Regions from separate parts of the Homo sapiens genome. Here regions 1, 2, 4, 5 and 6 are each linked to region 3. Evidence: promoter capture Hi-C in 16 types of primary human blood cells and fetal thymus (Javierre and others, 2016). All regions are on one chromosome and are shown on one strand. Each heading gives the region's core, a stretch centred on a gene start or on the middle of the fragment in contact. The rest is flanking DNA. Distances are from core to core; before and after follow the strand shown. Region 1 overlaps DOCK11 (dedicator of cytokinesis 11). Region 2 overlaps DOCK11 (dedicator of cytokinesis 11). Region 3 holds the start of ZCCHC12 (zinc finger CCHC-type containing 12). Region 4 overlaps DOCK11 (dedicator of cytokinesis 11). Region 5 has its middle 46 kb from the start of LONRF3. Region 6 overlaps DOCK11 (dedicator of cytokinesis 11).

Region 1 (3,045 bases), core at 264-2,763, 160 kb before region 3:
AGTCTGAGAACTATTTATCACATGTTTACAACAAGATAAGGAGTATTGTCCTGAATGTAAATTAACCATGTCACTAAACACTCTGTTTGTTCAACTGACTTGTTCCTTTTAATAGAAAGACTTTGTTGAAGAAGGAAATGAGGAATTGATTTACATTCTGGTGAAAGTTCCTTATCTTTTTATGGTCCAGTACTTTGAATAGAACTCTCTAGAGGTCTTGTAACAGACCATTTTAGGCATGCTTATCTTCAGAAATGAAGCAGGCTATGTTTTATCTTCAGCGCCTTTTATTTATTATTATTATTTTTTGAGATGGCGTCTCGCTGTGTCACCCAGGCTGGAGTGCAGTGGTGATCTCGGCTCACTGCAAGCTCCACCTCCCGGGTTCACGCCATTCTCCTGCCTCAGCCTCCCGAGTAGCTGGGACTACAGGCACCCGCCACCACGCCCAGCTAATTTTTTGTATTTTTTTTTTTAGTAGAGATGGGGTTTCACCCTGTTAGCCAGGATGGTCTCAATCTCCTGACCTCGTGATCTGCCTGCCTCGGCCTCCCAAAGTGCTGGGATTACAGGCGTGAGCCACCGCGCCTGGCCCAATGCCTTTTATTATCTACTTTATTTGAACAAAAATGGTCCTACAGCTTGGTGGGTCAAAGTAAATATCACTTTCATTCCTGGGGCTCCTTCTTCCTTAATTAAAACTCACTGACTACTCCCATGTATTTCTCCCTTCTTGAAAAAGTATTTCAAAGCCAGGCGTAGTGGCTCACGCCTATAATCTCAGCACTTTGGTAATCTGAGATGGGTAGGATCACTTGAGCTCAGGAGTTTGAGACCATCCTGGGTAACATGGCAAGACCTGGTCTCTACAAAATATATAAAAATTTGCCAGCCGTGGTGGCTTGCACCAGTAGTCCCAGCTACTTGGGAGGCTGAGGCAGAAGGATGGCTTGAGTCCAGGAAGTCGAGGCTGGAATGAGCTATGATCACGCTACTGCACTGCAGCCTAGGTGACGGGGTAACACTCTGTCTCCAAAAAAAAAAAAAAAAAGTATTTCAAAATAATCCTATCTTCCCCTAGCAGACTTTCATCTTTCTCTCAAAGAAGTGTGGTTCCTACTTCTGTGTGTGGTTCCTACCCATGTTCTGTTAAGCAGCTTACCCAGAAGATACATGTCTAGTGATTAGGTTTCATTTAGACAAGAAGAGTTGGAAAAATCCAAGCCCTGATATATAACCTCTTTTCCACCAGAATTCTGAGAAATCTCTTCAACATGAGGTCTGATTTTTTTTTTAAACCTTCCTTCTTCCTTCCCCAACCTCTAACAGGAAGATTACCAGATACTTAATTGTAAGTAAAGGTCATTATTTGTAAGTATCACTGTTAGGTTGTAGAACAGTAGATTGCAACAGCCATTTTTTTGTGTCTGTGTGACTAGCTCCTATCAGAAGGAAACTTTTTCATTGAAACGTTTTCAATGGTTATGTTATAAAGAGGCAGAATTTTCCTTGAACTCTAAAATTACAGCCCACTTAGATAAAGGTAAAGGCAGACACAGTAGGAATGTTTACACATGTTCCCCTGTCTAGAATCTATAGGGGAACCATGTGGCCTTTACACCTCGACTGTTGCTTGACAGTAACAATTTGGTCCAGAAGCCTACAGCAGGTGTTCTCAGCTTGAGTTCACTTCCTACTTCCCAGGAGTCCAGCTGGCAGCCATTATTTTATTCTACCTTGAGAAGGCTAGTTTATTTATTGGTAGGCTTATTTGCTAGTAATAATTCATTGAGTACTTATTTACTAGGCTCCATTCTAAACACTTTACATTTCATTTAATTCTCATAGCATAGTTATTTATTATCCCTGTTTTACAGATGATAAAACTTTTTATAGTCCCAGGGAGATAAACATTAGCACAAAATCACACAGTTAGTGATAGAGCTGAGTCTATGTAACTCCAAAAGTGGTGGTTCTTCCAGTGCCCCATCCTGTTTTCTCTAGGATGCTTCATCCCTGCCATCTGTTTTATTTCCTGACTCTCTTAAAAGTCCTAGGCCAGACCTTCTCCAACATCTCACTTCCTCTCCCAAATCTCAGTGAAATTAGGCACTAGACATGGTTACCAAAGATCACTTAGTGGTTACCTGAAAAGTGCCTGCCCTCTTGTTTAGATGATAGAACACAAATGTATACAGGATCAAAGTTTAAATAAAAATGTTTAGATTGCACTAGGTAAACATCTATCCTAGCCATTGAAGATGATACATAGTCAAAGAATAAAAGTTATTCATAACTAACTTAAGCTCACTTTGTAGGGGGAGAAACTAATAAAATATGTAGCAAATGGAAACAAATTTAAAAATTTTTGTAAGTGAAAATTGTACTTAAGACTTTGATTCTTACAAAAATAATGTGTTTATTTTAAATAGCCCATCTCTGTAAGGCTCACTGTTATTTACTAAATGCTTTCTCATAAATTCACTCCACTGTTTTTTTTATTCACACAGAATTATTTCCTAACGGATGTTCAGCGTTCAAGAAAATTACTCCCAATATAGATGAAGAAGGAGCAATGAAAGAAGATGCTGGGATGATGGATGTCCATTATAGTGAAGTAAGGATTCCAGGGCCTGCATTGCCAGTTATATAAATTTCACTTCTTAAAATTCATATATATTAAACAATTATTACAGCTAACCTAATTTTGAAGGTAACTAAGGGTTAATGAACTTTAAGTATTAAAACTGTCCAGGGCAAAGATGTTCCTGTTTAGAGGGCCCTGTCTCTTGAACTGGTCCCATTGTCTAGTTTTAGAAATACAGCATTTGCCGTCCTCAAGTCACCATTCCAATAACTAGATAAGAGTCAACACATGTTGGAAATTTTTCCATAAAAAATAGAGTTAACATTGCTCTTTACTTCAACTAAGACAGACTATGCACAAAAGTATTTTTAAATGGAAAATTTCTGCTCTAAACACCACATGGATAGAAAACAGCTTTGGCTGTCAGTCAACCACCAAAGATTTATTGAACATTGACT
Region 2 (3,250 bases), core at 364-2,863, 220 kb before region 3:
AAAGCTGCAGTGAACTATGATTGCGCCACTGCACTCTTGCCTGGAAGACAGAGTAAGACCCTGTCTCTTAAAAAAAAAAAAAAACAGTCATTCTATCTCAAATATTATAATTCCTCTCAAATTACATGATCTTTTAATTCTCATTAACTGATTTGAGCCTCACAGAACTCTGAAAGGAATGTGGAAGCCATCATCTCCATTTTATAGGTGAGGAAACTGAGGCTCAGGCAGGTTAGGTGACTTACCCAAGGTCACAGAGTAGTAATCAGGGGAATCAGGTCAAAACACACATTTCATTATTCTGGTTCCTGATGTAGTCCATGCTGTCTACAGAATCAGTGTATATGGGTTCCACATAGGACAGTTGGACTCCCTTGCCAGTGAAGTGCCATGGTAAATTTGGGTACTGAATGCCTGAGACTATTGTTCTGCTAACTTCCTGCTGCTATCTTTTCTTTATCAGTTCACATCTTTATTATTTATTTATCTGTATCTTTTTCAGTTCATACCTTTATTCCTGCTTATTTCATTAAAATGGAGAAGCAGCCCAACTTCATAGAACACACTAGTCAAAGTCGGAATCAAATGAATCTTTAGCTAGTTGGGCATAAATGGTGGCCTACCCCATGTGCTTGTGTACATGGCAGATTTACCTGGTTTTGCTGCTTTGTATAGTGGTCAAGAGCTGCTGAGCCTGGGCATTAGAATACCGGATAAATAGGTCTGCAAGATACAGGAGGAGGGAGAGGTAGAGAGCTTGCATTTGAGGATAATGAATCAAATTTCATATGGCTGTTTCCATCTGTGTTCCAGGATCTGCATGTGCACAAATTCTTCCATCATTGCCAGCTGATTCAGTCAGGCTCGAAAGAAGTTCCAGGGGAGCTCATTAAATATTTAAAGGTAAATGAACAGCAGCTTTCTGCAAAACGTTTGTTTTTCATGTCTTTCTGTTGCCACATTTTGGTGTGAAAAAAAAAAGCAAACAGACAGTTTAAAATATTTTTGGCTGTATTTCCTCAAGAGAATACTTTCTATGATGTATTTTTCCATCATGTGGCTGTTTAGAAGCAGACAGCAGAGTGGCAACATTAGGAAGAAAATGTAATAGCCACAATGCAGCATCATATTTTTGAAACTCTCATGAAAATGTTTATTTCAGGTCCATAAATTGATTTTTCAGGGGCTTTCTCTTCCTGCTGACTGCCCAATAAAGGTGGAGGATGCTGTGGGGGAAAGGGCCAGGAGGAATGGAATCACTTTGACTTGGAATGAAATGTGAAATTGTTCTTGTGTCCATGGGTGATAGACTAACAAAGGGGCTAGCTAATGAAAGACACATATTTTATGCATGTTGGCATATTGTATCTTACCACATGTATAGAGGACCTAACACTTGGTTTTTTCCCTGTGTGCTAGGACTACAGTGCATATCATAATTTGCCTGACAGTGGCTCTCTTCTTTTAATTGTTCCTTTAGTAAGATAGCTATAGCAAGTCTGAGGAAATATTATTTTAAATGAAACATCTTTAGGATTTACCTTTGGACATATGCTATTACTTAATGATATACTCAGGAAACAAAAATGTTCATTTCTTTCAGAGAGGTAGTATGAGATGAGATCAAATATATGGGTTCTGGAATCATAAACTGAGCTTGTATCCCACATGTCACTTACTAGCTCTGTAACTGACCATGACCAAGTTACTTCTCTGAGCCTTTGTTTCTTCATCTGTCATGTGAGGATAACAATAGTGCCCATCTTGTAGGGTGGTTGTGAGACTTAAATGAGATGATGGAGCTGGGCATGGTGCTTCACGCCTATAATCCCAGCACTTTGGGAGGCCGAGGCAGGAGATTGCTTGAGCTCAGGAGTTCAAGACCGGCCTGACCATCATGGCGAAACCCCGTCTCTACTAAGAATACAAAAATCAGCCAGACGTGGTGGCATACGCCTGTAATCCCAGCTACTCAGGAGGCTGAGGCAGGAGAATCGCTTGAACCTGGGAGGCGGAGGTTGCAGTGAGCTGAGATTGTGCCAGCCTGGGTGACAGCGAGATTCTGGTTTGTTTTCTTTTTTTTTAAAAAAAAAAAAAAAGAAAAAAGAAAAAGATTAGGGCATCTGCCGGATAGTAATCGTTCATGCCACACTTATTTCTTTAGTGCTTCCTATGGGCCAGGCATCATTCTAAGCATTGGAAATTTAAGTGGAGAAAACAAATAATATCCCTATTGTCAAAGAGCTTACTTGTTGAGACAGACAATAAACACATAAGTTAATAAATATATACGTCATCTCATATGGTAATAACTGTTATAAAGAAAACCAGCACAATGAAGGGGAGCAGGGATTTACAAGGGGTCCCTGTTTTAAAGTGGCCAGAGAAAATCTCTCTAGTAAAGGCACATTTGAGCAGAGACCTAAAGGAAATGAGAGTGCCAGCCATGTGGATTTCTCGGGGAGAGCTGGGAACAGCAAGTACAAAGGCCCCGAGGAGCTTGGCTTGGTGTGTTTGGGGAACAGCAAGAATCCCAGTGTGGCTGGGACACAGAGTGATAGGACATTACCTTGGGGAGGTTGCTGGGAGCTTGTCGAGTAAGGCTTCATAAGCCATGGCGAGGAGTTTGAATTTACTCCGAGTGAGATAGGAATATGGAGCTTTGGACAGAAGTGTGACATGATGTGACTTTGGTTTTTAAAGTGTCATTCTGCTTACCATATAGAAAACACACTGTTGGAAGAGTAGAAGGGAGACAGTCAATAAGTGGTGGCTATATGGCTATATGTTCTTAACTATCATTAAGACGTATAATAGGCCAGGTGCAATGGCTCATGCCTGTAATCCCAGCACCTTGGGAGGCCCAGGCAGGCAGATTGCTTGAGCCCAGGAGTTCGAGACCAGCCTGATCAACATGGTGAAACCCATCTCTATAAAAAAATACAAAAATTAGCCGGGCATAGTGGCACACACCTGTAATCTCAGCTACTTAGGAGGCTGAGGTGGGAGGATCGTTTGAGCCTGGGAGGTTGAGTCTCCAGTAAACTGTGATCATGCCACTGTACTCCAGCCTGGGCCACAGCGAGACCCTGTCTCAAAAAAAAAAAAAAAAGAAAAAAGTATGATAATCATCTAACTTTTAAATCCTTTCCTCAGGTAAATATCTAGGACTTCAATATGTATGAATGCTTTGTTAAGGTTTGTTCTTCACATGGGAAAGTTTTATAAAAGTTTCAATCAAGTGGAATGG
Region 3 (3,108 bases), core at 609-3,108:
TAAGGTAAAAATGAGGCCCTTAGGGTGGGCCCCAATCTGACTTGTGTCCTTATAAGAAGAGGAAATTTGGACACACTGAGAGAACCCAGAGGCACATATGCACAGAGAGGATGGCCAAGCAAGAGGGCAGCCATGTGCAAGCCAAGGAGAGAAGCCTCAGGAGAAACCAACCTTGCTGGCACCTTGAAGTTGGACTTCCCAACCTTCAGAACTATGAGCAATACATTTCTGTTGTTTATAAACCACCCAGTCTATGGTATTTTGCCATAGCACCCCAAACAGACTAAAACAGCACTGTAACAAATTATCACAAACTTGGCTTAAAACAAGAGAAGTTTAATTTCTCACAGTTCTAGAAGCCAGAAGCTTAACATCTGTTTCTCTGGGCTGAATTCAAGGTGTCAGTAGGACTGTGCTTTATTCCTTGCCTCTTCCAGTTTCTGGTGGCTGCTAGCATTCCTCTGCTTATGGCCACATCACTAATCTCTGGTCATTGCCTTCTCTTCTTGGTGCACCAACTCTCCCTCTTTTATAAGGGCACTTGTGGTTTAGATTTCAGCCTGCCTGGAAAATTAAGTCAAAAAGCCTTAACTTAATCACACCTGCAAAGACCATTTTACTTTATAAGGTAACATTTACAGGTTTCAGGGATTAGGACTTGATACATTTGGGTGGCCATTATTTAGCTTCATACAGAGTCCGAAATCTTTGCATACAATTTCAGGAAGATCATGGATTCCAGGTAGGCACATCTGCTCTGGAGTTGCATTTCACCACAGATACCTGTGGACAGATATTGGAGACAGGCTCATTTACTTATTCACAAACCTTGCTACAACTCAGAACCAACCGCAGCGCCGGTTAAAAATACTAAATACAAAACCACATCACAACCGCTAGTCCTAGTAAATCTGAATCCACCAGAGTTGGGGCCCAGAGCCTACATTTCTTTTCTTTTCCTTTTTTTTTTTTTTTTTTTTTTTTTTTTTTTTTTTTTGAGAGGGAGTCTTGTTCCCTTGCCAGGCTGAAGTGCAGCGGTGCGATCTTGGTTCACTGCAACCTCCGCCTCCCAGGTTGGAGAGATTCTCTAGCCTCAGCCTCCCAAGTAGCTGGGATTACAGGCACGCGCCATCATGCCCAGCTGATTTTTTTTTTTTTTTTTGTCTTTTTAGTAGAGACGGGGTTTCAACATGTTGGCCAGGATGGTCTCGATCTCTTGACCTCGTGAGCCGCCCGCCTCGGCCTCCCAAAGTGCTGGGATTTCAGGCGTGAGCCACCATTCCCGGCCAGAAGACTGCATTTCTAACAAGCTCCCCCAAATGACTCTGATGTCTTGCCCCCATACTTGAATGGGTATTGGTTGAGAGCCTTGTTCTCCAGCTCTCCTCTCTGTTAAATGGACATACTGCTACTTCTTTCACAGTAAAAGAGGAGATGTGTGTGAAAGCCTGTTTCCGCAATGCACGTGCTAATGCTCTTCCCGCCCCTTCCCCTCTTCCCCGTCTTTTCCCTATACCAAGGTGAAGAACTTTTATTATTCACTTGATTTTGGACCCACTTCGTGTTTAATGCACCTGGCCTAAGATGCAGAGTTGAGCCCAGGGAGAAGGGACGGGTTGGGGGAGGAAGAAAGAGTCGCAAATTCCCAGGCAGATTGGCTCCATCGGTCTAATCAAGCTGCACTTGACGCTCCGCGGGCCTGCTGCGCCCCCGCCCCCTCAGGCGAAAACTCGCCTCTGCCCAAGGCTGTGCGGGGCGTCCGCCCCCGCACTTCGCTGATTGGCCGCACTAGCCCGCTCGTCACGCTCTTTTGTCTCAGCTGGCAGAGGATAAAAGCCGCCGCGGCTGCCTTAGGAACGGCGCTGCCTCGTCTCTGCTACCCCTGGTTGGGCGGCCCTGCGAAGCAGCTCCTTCGGGCAGCCCCGGGTCGCTTAGCGGCCAAGGAGGCTTCAGTTCTTTGCCGCCTGCAAGGCGGAGACCAGAAGGCGGAATCCACAGCTGGCGACGCGGGAGCATCTGCTGTCCACCAGCGGAGCACAGGTAAAGAATGGGGGTGTGATTGCCCGGCGGGGAGAGGGGTGGGGGAAGACCCACCAGTACTGGGCGGCTCCCAGCTTGGAGAATCGGTGACTGTGAGGCAGGGGTAGGAGTACTCTCGTGGCCCGGCTGCGCTGAGGGAGGAGGTGGGGTTCACCTGGATACTGCGGGCTAGGTAGGATTTGCCTGGATTTGGGGGTGGGAGGAGAGGCGAGGAGTAGCGGGGGGAGGAATCTCGAGCTGTTTGCTTCGAACATCCTTTGCATCTCCTCATCTCTTTCTGGGAGGAATATGTGGGTGGGTGTGTCCAACTCCTATTCCCTTTCTCCGTGGCAGGCCATCAAAGCCGCATCTGAACTTGAATTCTGTGCAGCTGATTGCAGAGCTGGTAGGCCGACGGCTTCCCGGGGGAAATGTAATGCTGGAGGGTGGGGGGCTGGTCTCTGGCTTATAGTCAGGAGGGGGCAGAGAGAATTTTTCGCCTGGCAACAGCGGAGGTGGTGGGTAGCAGGATGACGGGTGAAGCTGCTTCTAACCCTTCCCTTCTCTGGCCTTCTCCGCTGTGGCGCAATCTTGAAACCTCAAGGACCCGGATCTGCGACCCCCTGTGGACAGAGGTTGACCGTACCCCGGAGAGGAGCTTTCTCACGGAGGGCACTGGTTGCAGAGGCTGGAAGTGAAATAAAGACGCGCTCTTGTTTCAGAGTTCGTGTAAGAATCTGAGAAATAACAAGGGGGACGGGCGTGGGGGGCACTTTGAGAAGGGGGTGTGGTTGAGACCAGAGACCATGAGGTTAATGAGATCTTATTTTATTTCCACAAATCTGCGATCATTGTACTCTATTTGGAGAGCCCAATATCAGCTCCAGACACTGCTACACCTAGAATTTGAAGCAACAGTTACCGTCCCTCTTGGAGGACTGGTGGGAGGGATGGATGTGGCTGCAAAAAGCACCTTGCTAGCACGCAGGCATCGGGTAGCTCTGGGAGGTTGTAAGTGTCAATCTCCTACAGGATTATTTTTAGGGTAGTGGGCAAATATAAAATGTACTGCAGGATATTCAGGTAGGA
Region 4 (3,183 bases), core at 668-3,167, 250 kb before region 3:
TATCCCCTGATAGCCCCTTAGCTTGTTACTGAGACTATAGTTGTCACCTCTGTGAACATTCCACAATGATGGTGGATGCTTCTGAAAGAGGGATGGAGCAAGTAAAGTGTTGTAAATATTTGAGAACTTGCTATTGAATTTTATGTTTAAAATTTCCTGCACAATATCAAATAAGTCATTTTAAGCCAATGTGTATTTCCCGTATTACTTCAGTGTGTAGCACTCAGCTGTATGTTCAATGCAGGAAGTTTAAATTATGATTTCAGATGTCATCCAGTTTGTAATTTGGAACAGGAAGAAAATCAACATTTAAAAAAGATCTCCTGTGTGCCAACATTATTCCATCAGTGTCTCATGTAATCATACTAGTTTGTGAAATGATATAATCACTACTGTTTGACAGATGGCGAAACTGAAGCTCAGGGAGGTTAAGTAAACTGCTCACCATTACACAGCTAGTAGTGGTGACGGTAGGATTTGAATTTAGGTCTGTTTGAAATAATTTGATCAAGAATATTAGACAAATGTAATTAAGTGCCGAAATATATAACCCTAGCACATGCCCTGCCACATCCTGGGAGCTTTGTAAGTGCTGGTGGCTGGGGTAGAGGACCTGGCCCATTTTCTAGCGGGAGGGGCCAGCAAAGTGGGTAAGAGTCGCCCTGGGGTGGGGAGGCATATTCATGCCCCTTGGTGGGAAACAAGGACTGGGCCATAGACCTTGTCCTAAACGGCCAGACCTCCAGCCCACGTGGGATTTCTGGGTTCTCTCTGGCCACCTTTTGCATTCTGGGGACAGGGAGAGGACCAGAAGCTGTTGGGACAAAAGGTAAAACAACCCCAAAGAGTGTCCCCCATCATTGGAATCCCTGGTCAGTTAGAAAATGGACATCTCTGTGCCTCAGCATCCTTATCTGCAAGTGGAGGTGGTGACAGTACCTGTCTCCAAGGGCTGTGGGGAGGCACAAATAAGGTGCGTGGTTCTAAGAAAACACTCAGCACTGTGATGGGCACACTGGGTTAGCGCAGTGCAGCGTAGCAGCCAGGAGTAGTAGCACTGACAGTGATCTCAAACAAGTGAAAACAGCAAGCTTTTATCAATTATCAACTATCTTAAAATTATAGTCCTCATTGCTGGCATCAGTAGGAAATGCTTAGAGTACTGGGAATGGGAAACAATAGGTGCTCAGTAAATGTTAGCTATAGCAATAATCAGTATTACTGTTCTCAAACTCCTGGGCTCAAGCAATCCTCCCGCCTCAGCCTCCCAAAGTGCTGGGATTACAGGCACGAGCCACCACACCCAGCAGTATTACTGTTCTAATCAGGCCTCATCATATGAGATGTTGGGTGTATGGGACTCAGGGCTGAGAGAGAATATAGCATGGGCTGTGTAATCTGGAAGCCTGAACTGCAATCTTCTTCACCCACTTACTCACTGCACAAACCTTTCTGAGCCTCCACTTCTTAATCTATAGAATATGTATATAGTAGTGCCTACATTTCAGGGTTTTTATGAAGACTGAATGAGATAAAGCATGAAAACCATCTAGCATGGTTATGTGGCAGTTAGCGTAACACTGCACTCAAGGTGCACTGCTCAGCATACCTTCTGCAGGGACAGCCCGGGCAGTCTGCCAACCCGTTCAGCCTCACAGCTCAAACAGCATGTTCCCGGCAGTACCCGAAGCCAGGTTCTGTGACCTTGGGATGCTTTGGTGGGCCACCTGGGTAATAGCAAGGTACCTGATGTGCATTACTTCATTTAATCCATACAAGAAATGTATGAAATCACTACTATCCTGCTATTTCACAGATGAGAAACCTGAGACTTAGAGAGAATGTGACTTGCTTAAACCCATAAATGTTGGAGCCAGAACCCAAGAAATTTGACAAGCAATTTTGAACCACTTTGTTCACTTTCTCAAGCAAATTTGAACCACTTTGTTCCATGCTTGCTGCTTGGGAATTCAAAGCTGAATCAGCCATTACGCAGGATCCTTATAAGCTGTTTGACTTGGGGGAAATCATTAGCCTCTTAACACTCAATTTTCTATTCTGCCCTGTCTACCTCCAAGGGTTCTATCTGGTACAAATGAGATAATGTGTCTGAAATGCATTGGAAACTGGAAATCACTATATTAACAAAGTTGGTAATATATCAAGGAAAAAAACGAAATTTTGGTAGAGACTCAGTGATAGATTTTTCCACTTGAATTCACTAGTGATGCCCCTTTAAACAACAGGCATAACCAACTAACATGCTATGTAGATGATATTATATTTGGAAGGAGTCAAACTGGACAGGAGGTGTTCCTGTTCCACATGCATTCAAAGAAAAATGTAATTTTGGTTGCATCTACATTAGTACATTTAAGTAAAGTGTATGGGGACAAAATGAGTTTTGGATTCTCTGTCTCCTACCTTTGCATTGGAAGCACCAGAGCTCTTGAACTGCAACAAAGGAATGTCTTTTAGAGGATGATTTAGTTTTTCTATATTAGAGCAGTAAAGTTTCTTTTTCCTTCTTAGTGGAAATAAATATTAGTTAAATATTAATTGCTCTTGAGTTACATGCAGCTGCATTTAAAAATGTATATCTAGTTCCACTCGAGAAATGTACTCACTTCGCATACACAACCAAACCAAAGAGGCAAAGCAGCAACGGTGACACCTGCGCTATGGAGACTAACAGATGTGAGGTTGGTGACAAAATATAAAATCCATTTTGAAAGGAACGTTGGAAGCTTTGAAAACTCTATGAAAGGAAATTCTATCTATTTCTAGGGTCCTGGACATGATCCTTTGTTGAATATGAACATTGTTTACTAAAAATCGTTAACCATAAACAACCATATGCACAAGATTACATAAGAAAGTCTAACGGAAGTACTTTTTTCCCAGGGAATTTTCTCAGTGACGAATCCACATCCTGAAATTTTTCTAGTTGCCAGAATTGAAAAGGTACTACAGGGAAACATTACACACTGTGCAGAACCCTATATCAAAAATTCTGATCCAGTAAAGGTAATTTATAAAGGTTGTTGATCAACATTTCACCTTAACGTAGAATTTGCCTTTTACTGATATTTTAAATGCCATTGCTTTGAGCATGCTATATATTCTGAAAACATTGTATACTGTGTATGTTTGCTAAAACTTGAACATGGCATATTTTCCTAT
Region 5 (3,298 bases), core at 639-3,138, 200 kb after region 3:
TCCCCAGTGCAGTTAGGAATCGGATTTTGGGCAGGATCATAATTAACTCTTCAGAGGAAATGGTGTTCAGTTTAGCACATCACAGTCATGCCCAACTAGCCTCCATAACCCACCTCTCCCCGGGGTTCTGAGGATCAAGACCTGGACAGAAACACTTGATAAGGACTTTTTATTATTAAAATGTAAATAAGACAAATAGAGTAGAACCCTATAAAAATCTTTTTAAAGGAACCAGATGGCCGGGCACGGTGGCTCACGCCTGTAATCCCAGCACTTTGGGAGGCCGAGGCAGGCGGATCACTTGAGGTCAGGAGTTCGAGAGCAGCCTAACTAACATGATGAAACCCTGTCTCTACTAAAAATGGATACAAAATTAGCCAGGCTTGGTGGTGTATGCCTGTAATCCCAGCTACTTGGGAGGCTGAGGCAGGAGAATCACATGAACCTGGGAGATGGAGGTTGCAGTGAGCCGAGATTGCACCACTGCACTCCAGCCTGGGCAACGAGCAAACCTGCGTCTCAAAAAAAAAAAAAAAAAAAAAAAAAGGGAACCAGATAATCTATTATTTTACCTAAGTACTGCCTTTGCTTCTAGTTGCATGGGTGAAATATTTCAATGTATGGGGAGAATATAGGGTGAGGAGTAAGAGTAAGCCCTGATTTAGCTTGCTTAGTGCTAGTTTGAGTCCTTCAGTGGCAGGACAGCCTGTAAAGTACCACAAGTATGGGAGTGTTATAATGGCAGAGTGAAACGATTAGAGCAGGGAGGAAGTGAATTGTGCCATTAGTACCTTCATGCAAATTATACCATGTGATTTTGGACAGTGAATGATTTTTGCATCATTCATTCACAGCCCATCACTCTGTTAAGGTGAGAGTGTAATTCTTACTTCTCCCATCACCACCTGTAGCTAGAAACAGGAAAGGGAGAATGAGATGATCCAGACAACATAAAAAAGATGCATGTAAGCAGAAACCAGATGGTCTTTTCTGCACTCACTTAATGGACATTATGTTGCCAGAGTGTTGTGTTTATCAGATTTGATGTTTGGAGCTAGTCTGGGCAGGTGAAGAACAGAAATAGGCGGAAGTATAGGCATTATTTCTGCGCAAGCAAACTCCACAAAGCTCAGGGAGCAGAAAAGACTCCCCCTCCCACCTGGTTCCCAGACCATGTGGTCATAACACAATCCTAATAGTTTCTGGTTATCTAGTGTAAATGCAACAAAGAAAAAGGCCCTAAGCTTCTCTACTTATTAGATATATTATTTTTGGCAATTGATTTAACTTTTGCCAACCCTCAGTTTTCTAATCTATGAAATGATAGTGATAAGTTCTGCATATAGGGTTGTTACGAAAATTAAATGAGATAATGTGTAAATCAATTAGCACAGTGTCTCACACCTAGAATGCACTCAAGAAATAATAGCTACTATTAGATTAGTCATAGTTATAGAATATCATCAAGGGCCTACATTTGTATAAAACACTGCCTTTACACACAATATCCACTTGAAACCCCTTTAAACTTAGTTGGGGGAATACATACCACTGATTTTTGGACCCATAATTTGATGATTTACAGATAATTCTTTTGGGAATTAAATGTGTGTGAAAGTGAAATAACTGGAGAACAAATGAGGGTCAGAGATAGGGATCAATCCTATACCAGAAATTTTTTTCCTGCTTCAATAAGGGCTAGAAGGTAGTGCCCTATGTAGGTCTAGGATTTCTTTCTTCCTTCCTTCCTTCCTTTCTTTTTCTTTTGTTCCCTCCCTCCCTCCCTCTCTCTCTCTTTCCCTCCCTTCCTTCCTTCCTTTCTTTTTCCTTTCCTTTCCTTTCCTTTCTTTCTTTTGTGTGTGTGTGTGTGTGTGCGAGTCTGAGTCTCACTCTGTCACCCAGGCTGGAGTGCAGTGGCTCGATCTCAGTTCACTGCAACCTCCGCCTCCCAGGTTCAAGTGATTCCCTTGTCTCAGCCCCCCAAGTAGCTGGGATTACAGGCACGCACCACCACGCCTGGCTAATTTTTGTAGTTTTAGTAGAGATGGGGTTTCACCATGTTGGTCAAGCTAGTCTCGAACTCCTGACCTCAGGTGATCCATCTGCCTGGGCCTCCCAAAGTGCTGGGATTACGGGCGTGGGTGTGAGCCACCGCACCCAGCCTAGGATTTCTGATAGAATGGAAGCCTTAAGTTCTAGCTCCATTAGAATAACCAACTTTTCACTCCCTGTTCTCCAAAATGTATTGAGAACCTTACCCATCCCAGATGATGAGAGTTTACAATCTGTGACTTCTGTTCTTAGTTGATAGTATTTCTTTATGTTGCCCAAAGTAACAGATTCAACAAAAAATGTACTGAGATCCCCATGTACCAGGTACTGAGCCAAGTGATCTCACATACCTGAGCTCATTACATCATTTATTTCTCATACCAACCCTGCGAGAGCAGTTATTATCCCCATATTATGAATGAGAAAACTGAGCCTCCACTATGTTAAATATTTTGTCTAGTTGCAAGGCAGGATGCAAGGCTAAGCTTTGGCTTTCTTTGGGATGTACCTTAACGAGGTAATCAATTGGTCTTGAACATTTTTACACTGGGAAATTGGTTTTGCTGCACAGCTTGGGAATGAAGGGTATACAGAAGAAAGACATAAGGCTAAATCTAGGCCAGAAAAATAAGACTTCCCCCACAGTAGATAGTGCCACTTATTTAGTTAGTTTTTCTGTCTATCATGACTGACCCAGTCTTTGCCTAGTAGGTTATATTTTGTATGTATGTATGTATGTATGTATGTCTTTGTGTGTGTATGTGTGTGTGTGTATGTGTGTGTGTATATATATATATATATATATATATATATATATATATATATACACTAGGTAGCAAGCAGACATCATATCTTTCTGCTTTGTACTGTACTACTGCTGCTAGCAAATAACCAGCAAAATGTAGAAAATGAAAAACCAATTTTCTGTAGACAACCTGGAGAAAAGAGTGCCTGCCCCTGACTTAGCGGGGCAGAGAATGACAATTTTTAAAGTTTGCCTTTTCTGAAGGTTGCTTTTAGCCCAGTGCTGCCTCAGCAGCAAGGGGCAAGCAGAGTCATTGCGCATGTGGCGCTTCCAGCTCTACCTGTGGAGCTGGCCTGGGCTCAGATAATCCCCTGTGACTGGCCATTGGAGCGGCGGAGCTCCTGAGGCTAGTTCACAGCACCCAGAGGTCTCTTACAGTCAACAGATTGCATACTGTTGACAGACTGCAATCCGTCTGTGTTCCCCACACCAACTCCATTT
Region 6 (3,006 bases), core at 268-2,767, 180 kb before region 3:
TGCATGATGCCTGGCTGTCAAAACACTTCGGAATAGACCGAAAATCGCAAACCATGCCTGCTCTTCGAAACAGATCAGGAGTAATGCAGGCCCGGCTTCAGCATCTTAGTAGCCTAGAAAGTTCATTTACACTTAATCACAGTAAGTGAAAATGTGTGTGTGGTACCCATTTGACCTTAAAGAAGTCCTGGTTTAAATAATAAAAACTGAAGGTGATGGATACCATAAATACCTTGATCATTACACATTATATGCATGTAACAAAATATCACCTGTATCCCTTAAATATGTATGAAGAAAAGAAGTCCTGGTTTAAATTGCCAATATGATGGGAAATGATTTCCCATACATGTGTTTGCATCTCTCTGCTATGTATATAATCAATTTCATCATACATGACTATAAAATGATAAAATACACATGGATTTTTGAACAATTTTAGGTCATGATGTTTTCTTCTTAGTGTTAAAGAAACTAAATTTTTCCCATGGAATTGCTATTCTCATAATATTTTTATATTGAGTATTCTTCATTCCTACTGTTAGACTTCAATGCAAATATTGACATCTTAATATAATAGTATATGTAATATTTGTTTAGTTACTTTTGGTCATTTAATGATTAGGGAATGAACATGCTGAGTTGACTGCAGAAATCGGTGAATCCTAAATACTAGTTTGGCAAAGGTGTATTTCAGACAGGTTGAAGTATTGACAAGGCAAATAGGGCAAGGAGAGAAATCTTGCCCAACTGCGGAAGCTAGAGGGTTATATAAATGGAAGCTATCCTATGAAAAGCAAATATTAATAACAACTCAAAGAGTGAGAATGTTTTGTTTCCACACAGTCCTCTGAAGGTTTCAGAAAAGGAAGCCAGCAAAACTGGCTTTGTGGTAAGACCTAGTAATAAAAAATAATGTTTTGCTAGACCCTGAACTAATAGACTCAGGACCTTTAAATCTGCATGTTTTAAAGCCTTCAGCTTCTTGTAAAAATATGATGAACCACTTCCTTCAGTTGCCTCCAAGATACCTTGTTTTCCTTCTGATTTAGAAACAAATGTCATATAATTGGCATAATTGAAAATGTCTGACCATAGGGCACTACTGTTTATCTGTAGCTGAATTTCTATTTAGTGGTTTCTCATTTTTACCCACATAATTAGTGGCATGACTTAGAAGGCCTCCCACATTATTTCCTAGTTACATCGCCAGAGTTCATCACTGAAACCTTGTCTCCAAAGAGGTGGGCACCTAATTATGTCCTGCAGAGCTGTTGATACAGAACTGTAATGAAAACTAATGAAATTGATTAACCCAGACTATATTTGATGAAGGAGTTAAATACAGTATGACACTGTGAGCCCTCTTTTTTTTGAGACGGAGTCTCACTCTGTCACCCAGGTTGGAGTGCAGTGACGTGATCTCGGCTCGCTGCAACCTCTGCCTCCCGGGTTCAAGTGATTCTCCTGCCTCAGCCTCCTGAGTAGCTGGGATTGTAGGTACGTGCCACCATGCCCGGCTAATTTTTTGTATTTTTAGTAGAGACAGGTTTCATCATGCTAGCCAGGCTGGTCTTGAACTGACCTCATGATCTGTCCGCCTCAGCCTCCCAAAGTGCTGGGATTACAGGCATGAGCCACCGCACCCAGCCGAGCCCCCTTTCTTGTCTTAAGTCTTTGGGTAGAAAGTCATTCAACACCATTATGTGCATCTTCGTGTTGGGAAAAGTTTAATTTACTTTTTTAATCCTAGGTTCTACAACAACTGAAGCAGACATTTTCCACCAGGCACTTCTTGAAGGCAATACAGCTACTGAAGTTTCCCTAACAGTACTAGACACCATATCATTTTTCACTCAGTGCTTCAAGGTAAAAATGAAGAGTTATAATTCAGTTGGTACCATTGCAAAGTAACATTATGCAGAAATTACCTAGTCAATGTGGGGTAGTACACTGAAAAAGGCTGGCATGAATAGTCAGGAAATGTGGATGGCAGTTCTAGTTTGGTTATCATGTGACCCTGGAAGTCACTGAGACTCACTTGTGTCATCCATAAAGGGAAGGGAGTGGACTAACTTGCCCTTAAGCTCTCTTCTACCTCTTAAATTCTATTAGATTTTCGTATTTAAAAACAAAGTTTCCATACTTTAAGTAGCCAGCAATTTTTAGCCCAAAATATGATTGGATCTGTTTGCCCAAATACCCATTGTGATGAGATGTCCTGTCAGGGTAGATGATGTCCGGGCAGTCTGGCTGGCTTCCCTAGGCGCGCACTTAGTGTTTTTTCTCAGATGTTTGCCTCTCAGTGCAAATCATCATTGCTATGATTTTAAAAAGAAGGTAAAAGCAGTTATCTAGCAGGATTATTGGAGGGGGAAATGGGATAATGGACGTGAGAGTGCTTTGAAAAGTAAAAACGGTGTGACCATAATGTAAGAACTCAAAGGTGAAAATCTTGCTTGCTTTCACTTCAGTTATACAGATTTTTTTTTTCCTTTTTCCCCTCTTCTCTAAGTAATTAAGTTAATTGCTTCAGACCTCGAGATTTTCTATGGAAACCTGGCCTGTGCTTTTCAAAGAGGCTTATAAAGGAAAATTGAATTAGATACTAATATAAAATAGGCTGCAGAATACCTTTAATAAATAGGCTACAGATCCCTTTATGAAGTATTAGGTTTGTTCTATATTAAAATGCAACACAACTCCATGTTTCATCGTGCCAATAACTAAGAAAGCCATTAGATCTCATGATGTACATTGTATTCCTTCCTCCTATTCTGATACCTCTAATTTATTTAACAAACATTTATATAGTCTCTTGGTAGATATCAGGCACTGTCCTAAGTGCTTTACAAATATTAACTCACTTTTTCATTGTGAGGCTGGGAATGAGAAAGGGGAGTGATCTTTTTGAAACAATGGAAATGTTCTAAAATTGGATTGCGGTGGTCACCCAACTCTGTTGCCGAATTTACTAAATGTAATTTAATTGTATACCTGAAACTG

Evidence for each region. The method cuts DNA at HindIII sites, captures the fragments that hold promoters and counts their contacts. A CHiCAGO score of 5 or more calls a contact.
Region 1: a contact is called between a fragment that was not itself captured here and the fragment with the promoter of ZCCHC12 in region 3, in 1 of 17 cell types (neutrophils). The highest score is 5.9, in neutrophils.
Region 2: a contact is called between a fragment that was not itself captured here and the fragment with the promoter of ZCCHC12 in region 3, in 3 of 17 cell types (naive B cells, M1 macrophages and neutrophils). The highest score is 5.1, in naive B cells.
Region 4: a fragment that was not itself captured here is called in contact with the fragment with the promoter of ZCCHC12 in region 3 in 1 of 17 cell types (neutrophils); the score reaches 5.1 in neutrophils.
Region 5: a contact is called between a fragment that was not itself captured here and the fragment with the promoter of ZCCHC12 in region 3, in 1 of 17 cell types (naive B cells). The highest score is 5.1, in naive B cells.
Region 6: a fragment that was not itself captured here is called in contact with the fragment with the promoter of ZCCHC12 in region 3 in 1 of 17 cell types (endothelial precursors); the score reaches 5.8 in endothelial precursors.

The regions. Positions count from the first base shown.
Region 1 is chrX:118,660,176-118,663,220 of GRCh38, forward strand. It overlaps DOCK11 (dedicator of cytokinesis 11), which reads left to right. Exons shown (of 53, transcript NM_144658.4): 45 at 2,511-2,617. Among named protein-coding and RNA genes, the nearest start is that of IL13RA1, 66 kb to the right of the region's middle. The HindIII fragment of the contact is 5,270 bases long and covers 1-3,045 here.
Region 2 is chrX:118,598,326-118,601,575 of GRCh38, forward strand. It overlaps DOCK11 (dedicator of cytokinesis 11), which reads left to right. Exons shown (of 53, transcript NM_144658.4): 23 at 814-903. Among named protein-coding and RNA genes, the nearest start is that of DOCK11, 100 kb to the left of the region's middle. The HindIII fragment of the contact is 6,728 bases long and covers 1-3,250 here.
Region 3 is chrX:118,821,966-118,825,073 of GRCh38, forward strand. ZCCHC12 (zinc finger CCHC-type containing 12) reads left to right here and starts at 1,859. Exons shown (of 4, transcript NM_173798.4): 1 at 1,859-2,040; 2 at 2,374-2,425; 3 at 2,624-2,748. The HindIII fragment of the contact is 2,857 bases long and covers 365-3,108 here.
Region 4 is chrX:118,575,621-118,578,803 of GRCh38, forward strand. DOCK11 (dedicator of cytokinesis 11) reads left to right here. Exons shown (of 53, transcript NM_144658.4): 13 at 2,905-3,027. Among named protein-coding and RNA genes, the nearest start is that of DOCK11, 81 kb to the left of the region's middle. The HindIII fragment of the contact is 1,656 bases long and covers 1,090-2,745 here.
Region 5 is chrX:119,018,616-119,021,913 of GRCh38, forward strand. No RefSeq gene overlaps it. Among named protein-coding and RNA genes, the nearest start is that of LONRF3, 46 kb to the left of the region's middle. The HindIII fragment of the contact is 1,293 bases long and covers 1,243-2,535 here.
Region 6 is chrX:118,639,437-118,642,442 of GRCh38, forward strand. DOCK11 (dedicator of cytokinesis 11) reads left to right here. Exons shown (of 53, transcript NM_144658.4): 38 at 1-141; 39 at 1,754-1,869. Among named protein-coding and RNA genes, the nearest start is that of IL13RA1, 87 kb to the right of the region's middle. The HindIII fragment of the contact is 5,304 bases long and covers 1-3,006 here.